Linked DNA regions of Homo sapiens: region 1 is linked to region 2. Evidence: promoter capture Hi-C in human tissues and cell types (Jung and others, 2019). All regions are on one chromosome and are shown on one strand. Each heading gives the region's core, a stretch centred on a gene start or on the middle of the fragment in contact. The rest is flanking DNA. Distances are from core to core; before and after follow the strand shown.

Region 1 (4,435 bases), core at 42-2,541, 420 kb before region 2:
TTTTCTCTACCCCAGTTTCCTAGCTATAGGATAGGGATCACAATAATTTGTAGTTTCTGGTGTTCTTGTGAGGATTAAATGAGTTAATTTATGTAAAGTATTAAAAGCAGTGCCTGGGCCAGGCGCGGTGGCTCACGCCTGTAATCCCAGCACTTTGGGAGGCCAAGGCGGGCGGATCACGAGGTCAGGAGATCGAGACCATCCTGGCTAACATGGTGAAACCCCGTCTCTACTAAAAATACAAAAAATTAGCTGGGCTTGGTGGCAGGCGCCTGTAGTCCTACTTACTCGTGAGGCTGAGGCAGGAGAATGGCGTGAACCCGGGAGGCGGAGCTTGAAGTGAGCCAAGATCGCATCACTGCACTCCAGCCTGGGCGACAGACCAAGACTCTGTCTCAAAAAAAAAAAAAAAAAAAAAAGCAGTGCCTGGTATACACTAAGTGTTCAGTACATCTTGGTTATTCGTCTTATCTTTATTATAAAGTATTATTGCTAGACTTGTTTTGACTCTTTGAATCCCTGATTCAGATAGTCAAAGATTTAGAGAACCTAGGTTTCAATCGATGAAGGGAGCCTGGGTGCTAAGATATACAGATGGGATGATTCTAAGATTTCAAGATTTTAAATATTTTTAGGTTTTAAGATTCCACTCATTTATTTATTTATTTATTTTGAGATGGACTCTCACTCTGAGGCCCAGGCTGGAGTGCAGTGGGTTGATCTCGACTCACTGAAACCTCCATCTCCCGGGTTCAAACGATCCTCTCACCCTCCGCCTCCTTAGTAGCTAGGACGACAGGCATGTGCCACTGTGCCCAGCTAGTTTTCGTATTTTTGGTAGAGACAGCGTTCTGCCATGTTGCTCAGGCTGGTCTCGAACTCTTCACCTTAAGTGATCCGCCCACCTCAGCCTCCCAAAGTGCTGGGATTACAAGCGTGAGCCACCATGCCTGCCCTCAGGTTTTTTTTTTTTTTTTTTTGAGACAGGGTCTTGCTCTGTTGCCCAGGCTGGAGTGCAGTGGTGGGATCATAGCTCGCTGCAGCCTGGACCTTCCAAGGTCAAGTGATCCTCCCGCCTCAGCCTCCCCAGTGGCTTGGACTACAGGCATGTGTCCCACCATGCCTGCTAATTTTTTAAATTTTGTAGATATGTGGGTCTTGCCATGTTGCCCAGGGTAGTCTTGAACTCCTGGGCTCAAGCAATCCTCCGGCCTTGGCCTCCCAAAGTGCTGGGATTACAGGCATGAGCCACCACACCCGGCCATTTCCGGATCTTAATATTTTATGTTCTTTTTTTTTTTTTTTTTTGAGATGGAGTCTCGCTCTGTTGCCCAGGCTGGAGTGCAGTGGCGCGATCTCGACTCACTGCAAGCTCCACCTCCCGGGTTCTCGCCATTCTCTTGCCTCAGCCTCCTGAGTAGCTGGGACTACAGATGCCCGCCACCATGCCCAGATTTTTTTTTGTATTTTTTAGTAGAGACAGGGTTTCGACGTGTTAGCCAGGATGGTGTCGATCTCCTGACCTTGTGATCCGCCCGCCTCGGCCTCCCAAAGTGCTGGGATTACAGGCGTGAGCCACCGCACCCAGCCTTAATATTTTATGTTCTAAGATCCTGCTTCTGAGATGCTAGGATTGGGAGCTAACACACTACGATGGGAAGATTTTCTGGTCCTGAAACCAGATGTAGGATTACCAAGTGTTATCAGTTCTGATCCCAAGCTTCTGTTTGTCAAACATCCTGAGATCCCAAGGATCTATAATAATACTGTTCAAAGACTTAAGTCCCTAAAAGTCCTTGATCCCAGGATTCAGCGTTTTGCAGATCCTGTGACATTAGAGTCTACAGGTTTAAGCTTCTGCGTTTTGAGGAGGCAGATGCCACCCACCTCCCACCCCTCAGGCCCTCTTCCCCCATCGGTGGGCAGATGTTTTGGGGGAGGGCTGGGAATGGGGTTCCCACGGGGCTGACACCTTGGCCTCTTGCTGCGGCACCTTACTCTAGGCACAATGACAACAAGAGCTTCCTGGTGTGGGTGAACGAGGAGGATCACCTCCGGGTCATCTCCATGGAGAAGGGGGGCAACATGAAGGAGGTTTTCCGCCGCTTCTGCGTAGGGCTGCAGAAGGTGGGTGTCTGCCCTTAGCTGCTGACTTCTGACTCCACCTTGAACGCCCCACCTGCTTTCCGAGGCCCCGCCCCTTCCCCTATACTAAGCCCTGCCCCACCCATTTTCCAGGGCCCTGCCCCCCGGACCTGGCTCCACCCCATGCCAAACCCCGCCCCCCAAAACTAGCCCCACCCGCTTTTCAGGGCCCCGCCCCTGGACCCAGCTCCACCCTATGCCCAAGCCCCGCCCGTAAGGATCCGCCTTCAGGCCGGGAGCGGTGGCTCACGCCTGTAATCCCAGCACTTTGGGAGGCTGAGGAGGGTCAGGAGTTCAAGACCAGCCTGGCCAACATGGTGAAACCCCGTCTCTATACTAAAAAATTAATAAATAAATAAATTATCCAGGCGTAGTGGCGCGCGCCTGTAGTCCCAGCTACTCGGGAGGCTGAGGCAGGAGAATCGCTTGAACCTGGGAGGCAGAGGTTGCAGTGAGACGAGATCACGCCATTGCACTCCAGCCTGGGTGACACAGAGAGACTCTGGAAAAAAAAAAAAAAAAAACCCGCCTTCAAAGCGTTCTTAGTCCCCGCCCCTCAAAATCCTGCCTTGGTCCCCATTGTCTAGCCAGCACCCTCGGAATCTCCTACCTCCCTGTTCCCCTCAGAATCCCACCTCCACCACGTTCCCACGCCCTGTCCCTCCGGACCCTGTCCATGTTGCGGGTGCATTTGGGGGTGCCTGCCGGCGCTGACCCCTGGTCCTCTCTCTGAACCTCAGATTGAGGAGATCTTTAAGAAAGCTGGCCACCCCTTCATGTGGAACCAGCACCTGGGCTACGTGCTCACCTGCCCATCCAACCTGGGCACTGGGCTGCGTGGAGGCGTGCATGTGAAGCTGGCGCACCTGAGCAAGCACCCCAAGTTCGAGGAGATCCTCACCCGCCTGCGTCTGCAGAAGAGGGGTACAGGTACGGCTCCCACATCCTTTGCACCACGACGGAGGGGGAGCGAGGGCCCTTTGCAGGGATGCAAGGAGAGGTGCGACATCCCTGCGAGTTCTGGGGATCCGGCAAGGGCTGACCCTCTGTGAGCTTGCATTTCTTCCTCTGTAAAATGGGTGTCAATATGCCTATGTGATAGGAGTCAATGTGGGATTTTCATGATTATATAATATGCATTGCACATGCCCTTGGACCTCCCTCGGGGCCTCAGTTTCCCCATTTATAAAGCGAGGAGTGGTCAGGATTCGACCCTAGGCCGCCTGGCTCCAGAACCCACTCTCTTACCCACTATACTATGTTTGATAACTGAGTGGCGTGGTACCCCATCTGAAGTCAGAGACTCGTGAGCTCACGAATGAACAGGCATTACCTGTGTGCAGGTAACCTGTTACACAGTAGGCACTCACTACATGCGGCTGTTGCATTTGGCACGGGGGCCACGTCCCAGCCCCTCTGCACCTTCGCTGCCTCTTCACGCCCCTGTCCCTTGCTCCCACAGGTGGCGTGGACACAGCTGCCGTGGGCTCAGTATTTGACGTGTCCAACGCTGATCGGCTGGGCTCGTCCGAAGTAGAACAGGTGCAGCTGGTGGTGGATGGTGTGAAGCTCATGGTGGAAATGGAGAAGAAGTTGGAGAAAGGCCAGTCCATTGACGACATGATCCCCGCCCAGAAGTAGGCGCCTGCCCACCTGCCACCGACTGCTGGAACCCAGCCAGTGGGAGGGCCTGGCCCACCAGAGTCCTGCTCCCTCACTCCTCGCCCCGCCCCCTGTCCCAGAGTCCCACCTGGGGGCTCTCTCCACCCTTCTCAGAGTTCCAGTTTCAACCAGAGTTCCAACCAATGGGCTCCATCCTCTGGATTCTGGCCAATGAAATATCTCCCTGGCAGGGTCCTCTTCTTTTCCCAGAGCTCCACCCCAACCAGGAGCTCTAGTTAATGGAGAGCTCCCAGCACACTCGGAGCTTGTGCTTTGTCTCCACGCAAAGCGATAAATAAAAGCATTGGTGGCCTTAGCTTTGTGCGATAGTTATTGAGGGAGGACGTGCAATTGGCCACTGTGTGGTCTCAGAGTGGTTTGTCCTGTCTAGGCATGTACTAAACATGTCTTATCCCGGGTCTAAAATGAGGCAAAGTTAGGTCACAGAATCTAGTCCAAAAATTAGAAGGCTCTATGGGGAATCTGAGACCCAGAGAGACACTGAGCCCAGTGTCACTCACCCAAAGCATGGGCCCTTTCCAACTATGGCTTTGAATTAGTCATGCTCAGATCTCAAACACGAGGTCCACGCTGGGGAGGAATGCAGCCAAACGAAATGTCTGAAACT
Region 2 (4,237 bases), core at 229-2,728:
CACGGCCTGACTAAGAGACTCAGAGAAAGGAGGTGCTGCCGGTAGGCCCACAGACCTGTTCCTTCACTCCAGCCTAGCTGCTATGGGGAGACAGTACCTCTGGATTCTAGGTCCCCAAACTGAGTAGTCAGTCTGGCACTATATCTCCGAGTCTTTTCAAGTATCAGGGAGCCCAGCTCTTGAGGGAGGAGTAATTGGGCCGAGTGTGCAGATGCAGGGAGGGGGACGGCGGGGACGATCTCTGGTGGGTAAGGACACCAGGAAGGCTCACCTGAAAATGGTTACTCAACCCTTTGTTGACTGTGAGCTTGACACCCTCCATCTGAATGGGAAACAGCTCTGGAGAAGAGAAACGCTGTCACACTCCACTCCAACCCCACACCAACTCTCATCTCTTCCTTCCCTACCACCCCCAGCTCTCTCCAGAGACCCACAGCAGAACATCTCACAAAGGATTCCACCTGTAAAGAGGCAGTACAGCCTAGTTAGACAGGGCCAGGGCCTTTGCTTGCTCAAATCTCACTGCCACCAAGCTGAGCAACTTTAGGTCAAACTCATCATCTGAAAGATGGGACCCTCACCACACAGAATTGTCCCAAGGATCTAATGAGTTAACGTATAATGAACACCAGAACAGAACTCCATAAATCTCCACCACTACTACTACTCTAATTGCTCCAGGCTGGGATCCGGAGGCTTTGGGTCCCATACCCAAGGAACCTCGCTGACACCTTGCTGACACCGTGACCTTGGGCCTCAGTTGCCTTCCCGATCACAAGAGAAGTCTGGCTTGGCTGATCCCGGGGCTCCTCAGGTCCCTAAAGGCTTTTCTCTACTGCTATGACATTCCATCCCGTTTCCAGCATTTGATTCCATCATTCTAAGCCCCAAGTCCAACGTTCCACCATTCGATCCCAACATCACCTCCTAGTGCTGTTAAATAATTCCAATGGTGCGCGCCAAATCCCAGAGTCCCCAGTGTCCTCCCCCTTCCCCCGAGATCCAGGCCATCGCAGCCCAGCGGGGGCCCCTCGCCCCTCACCCTTGCACTTCCGGTGGCACTCCTCGAATGTGCCCGGGTTGGGCAGGCAGCCGCAGGCCCCATCCTCGGCGGCCCCTGAGGCGCTGGCGGTTGCAGCCCCGGGGGTCCGTTCCGAACTTCGACTCGTACTGGTGCCGGCGCCCAGGCTGCCTCCCAGCGGCGGCAGCGTGAAGCCCGGCGGCGAGGGCGGAGGTGGCGGCAGCCCCACGAGGGCCGGCGCAGGCGGCGGTGGCGGCCCTGCGGGCGGCGAGCTGGCAGCCAACACGTTCCCCATGGTCGCCTGCTAGGGGAGAGGTCAGAGGGCAGAGGTCAGGGCCCGCGCGCCCCCGACTCAGCCCCAGCAAATCCGCACCCGGCTCCGGCCCCGGTTCTCACTGGCGGCGGCGCCTGCTCCCGGCCTGGGCTCCGCTCCCACCCCGTGCGCCACGCGCAACCGAACCCGCTGCCGCCGCCGCCACCACCGTCGCCCCGCCCCACCTAGCCCATTGGTTTAGTGTGCCCTGAGGCCCGCCCACCAGCGTCAAGACTCGGTCTTCCCATTGGACTTGTGCATAAAGTCCCGCCCACTTTCCCTGAAATGTCCTTTTGTATTGGTTCTCACTCGCAGGGTAGCCACGGCGCCCCTCCCACCCTTCCCATTGGCTCGCAGCGCCTGCGCCTATTGGCTCGCGTCGCCGCGGGTTCCGGTGCTAACCCGCCATTGGTCTGTGCTGAGCATTTTGCCACGCCCGCTGAGGCATCGCCCCGCCTCTCTCCTGGAGGAGGCCCTCTTTTGATTCCGCCCCGCGGCGAGGTTGCTGTGATAATTGGTCGGCTTTGACCCTTGCAGCATTTTGATTGGCTCCAGCGTGTACGGGGTCGACCTTGGTGGCGTATCAGCTTGGTACTCTCATTGGCTAACGTTCCAGGGTCGAAGGACAGGTAAAGGTGGGTTGCGCGGCAGAGGCGGCTAGGCAGCAAGGTCAGGCCTCGCGTCCCACCAGGCACCGCGGCAGCCGGGCCCCCACCCCACCTCTGGTTCGGAGTAGCCGACCTAAAACCGGAAGTGCTGGCCCTTCCCAGAGTGCCTCGGGAGAATTCTAATCTGTTCTGCGAACCCTGCGCTGCTCCTCGTTACCCACAATGCCCTCATCACCTCTTAGCGAAACAGTTGCCTTAGACCCACCCCTTTCGTTACCCATCATGCCTCTTGTTCCTCGCGTCACTGCGGCTTCTATCTTTGGCCCATTCATTCCTCTCCCATTACCCATCATGCCTCTGCCCCATTCATTTGAGCTTCATTGCCCAGACTACTTTTAGCTCCAGCCTGCCTGCTCACTTTCGTCGTTCTTCCGGCCCTTCTCTAATTAGCCATCATGTTTTGGATCCATGAACTCCTGTCCGTTACCTCCCTTGCCCCCGGTCCCTATTTTTCCATTATTCATCACTCTGCCTCTGGCCCATTCATTCAGGTTTATTATCCGTCATGCCTTGGGCTCCTATTACAACATTATTCATGATTTTGCCTTTAGTCTACTTTTACTTGCCGTTTATTCATTAAACTTGAGCCTCTTATACTTTCGTTACTGCTTTTTTAATTTTTATTTTTTTAAAGACAAGGTTGGACTCTGTCACTCAGGCTGGAGTGCAGTGGCGCCATCATAGCTTACTGCAGCCTTGAACTTCTGGCCTCAATCGATCCTCCTACCTCAGCCTCCAGAGTAGCTGAACTACAGGTGCGTGCCACCACGCCCGGCTAACTTTCGTAGAGGCGGGGTCTCACTGTGTTTCCCAGGCTGGTCTCTTAACTCCTGGACTCAGTCGAGCTTCCCGCCTCAGTTTCCCGAAGTGCTGGAATTACAGGAATGAGCCACTGCATCTGGCCAATTGCTATTTTTATCTTTGTCCCATTCATCATACTGCTGTTGCAATTATGAATGTTCATTAAACAGCATGCCCTGGACCCCTCCCCATTCCATTACTCAACATTCTGTTTTTAGGGCTGGGCGCAGTGGCTCACGCCTGTAATCCCAGCACTTTGGGAGGCCGAGACGGGTGGATCACGAGGTCAGGAGATCGAGACCATCTTGGCTAACGCGGTGAAACCCCGTCTCTACTAAAAATACAAAAAATAAGCCGGGCGTGGTGGTGGGCGCCTGTAGTCCCAGCTACTCGGGAGGCTGAGGCAGAGGAATGGCGTTAACTCAGAAGGTGGAGCTTGCAGTGAGCCGAGATCATGCCACTGCACTCCAGCCTGGGCGACAGAGCGAGACTCCGCCTCAAAAAAAAAAAAAATTTTGTTTTTGATTGATACATTTTTGCTCATTACTCTCTCAATTCTTATTTTGTATCTTTGGTCCCTTTGTTTTTGTCTTTAACTCTCTTGACCCCAGTTCACTGATTCTCTCAAGCCCTTAGACTCCTTCCTCATTCCCCTTCATGTCTCACCCCATCCCCTTCACATCCCACAGAAAAGGCAAGACCTGGTCAAAGTATAAATTCATATTTTGTAGGAAATGTAGTTTACAAAACAGTATCAATTGCTACCCCCAATTCAGATGACCCACTTTCCCCGGAAGGGGGATGTTTAGGTCCTATTCCACTGGGCAAGGGTAAAATGATTCAGTAGTCTTCCAGGTTAACAGTAAATTCTTCTCCCAAGGCTGGGGCCATCAAGGCACAGTCTGTATGAGGCTCACCCTGTCTGACCCTAGGCTGGGGCTGCTTGCTTGGTAGGCAGGAATTGGGGTGGGGGTGGGGGCTCAGGGAAGGGTCTGGACCCTGAGACTTCTGCTTACAGGAGGGTGCTGGGAAAACCCTGCCTTGGGCTGGGGAATCCCCTCTTTCCCACCTTTGGGGAACAGGGTGGGGAGGGGGTAAGTGGGACCCTGCTGCCTGGAGGGCTCAGGTCTGAGCAGCAGGGAGCCCTCAGCGCCCACTCCAGCAGACCTATTGGGAATTTACTACCTGAAGACAAATTATAGGTCTAGGGTCTTCTTTGTGATTTTGGGGGAGTCGAGGCATTGGGGGGTGAGAGGTATGGTCTAAGGTCACAGTCTGGGAGAGGAGTCCTTGGGATCAGAGGTTGTGCAGAAGCACCTTCCCCACCTCCTGCCTCATGAGATAAGGTTGCCAGGATTCCATTATCACGGTGAATTTCTCTGGGCTCATGGGTTAGGGGTCATAGTGGAGCCACCAAGGTAGACATCACAAATG

What was found. Contacts are between HindIII fragments. The study calls those that stand out against the background at their distance.
Region 1: a fragment that was not itself captured here is called in contact with the fragment with the promoter of TOMM40 in region 2 in 1 of the 25 tissues and cell types used here (lymphoblastoid cells).

Annotation. Positions count from the first base shown.
Region 1 is chr19:45,306,101-45,310,535 of GRCh38, reverse strand. It overlaps CKM (creatine kinase, M-type), which reads left to right. Exons shown (of 8, transcript NM_001824.5): 6 at 2,004-2,127; 7 at 2,886-3,075; 8 at 3,608-4,123. The coding sequence ends at 3,786. Among named protein-coding and RNA genes, the nearest start is that of CKM, 15 kb to the left of the region's middle. RefSeq lists a silencer at 1,849-2,006. The HindIII fragment of the contact is 3,883 bases long and covers 1-3,232 here.
Region 2 is chr19:44,888,495-44,892,731 of GRCh38, reverse strand. TOMM40 (translocase of outer mitochondrial membrane 40) reads right to left here and starts at 1,478. Exons shown (of 9, transcript NM_001128917.2): 1 at 1,043-1,478; 2 at 272-339. The coding sequence starts at 1,316. It overlaps NECTIN2 (nectin cell adhesion molecule 2), which reads right to left. Exons shown (of 9, transcript NM_001042724.2): 9 at 3,509-4,237. RefSeq lists a silencer at 1,142-1,781 and enhancers at 2,092-2,251, 2,421-2,922. The HindIII fragment of the contact is 8,270 bases long and covers 1-4,237 here.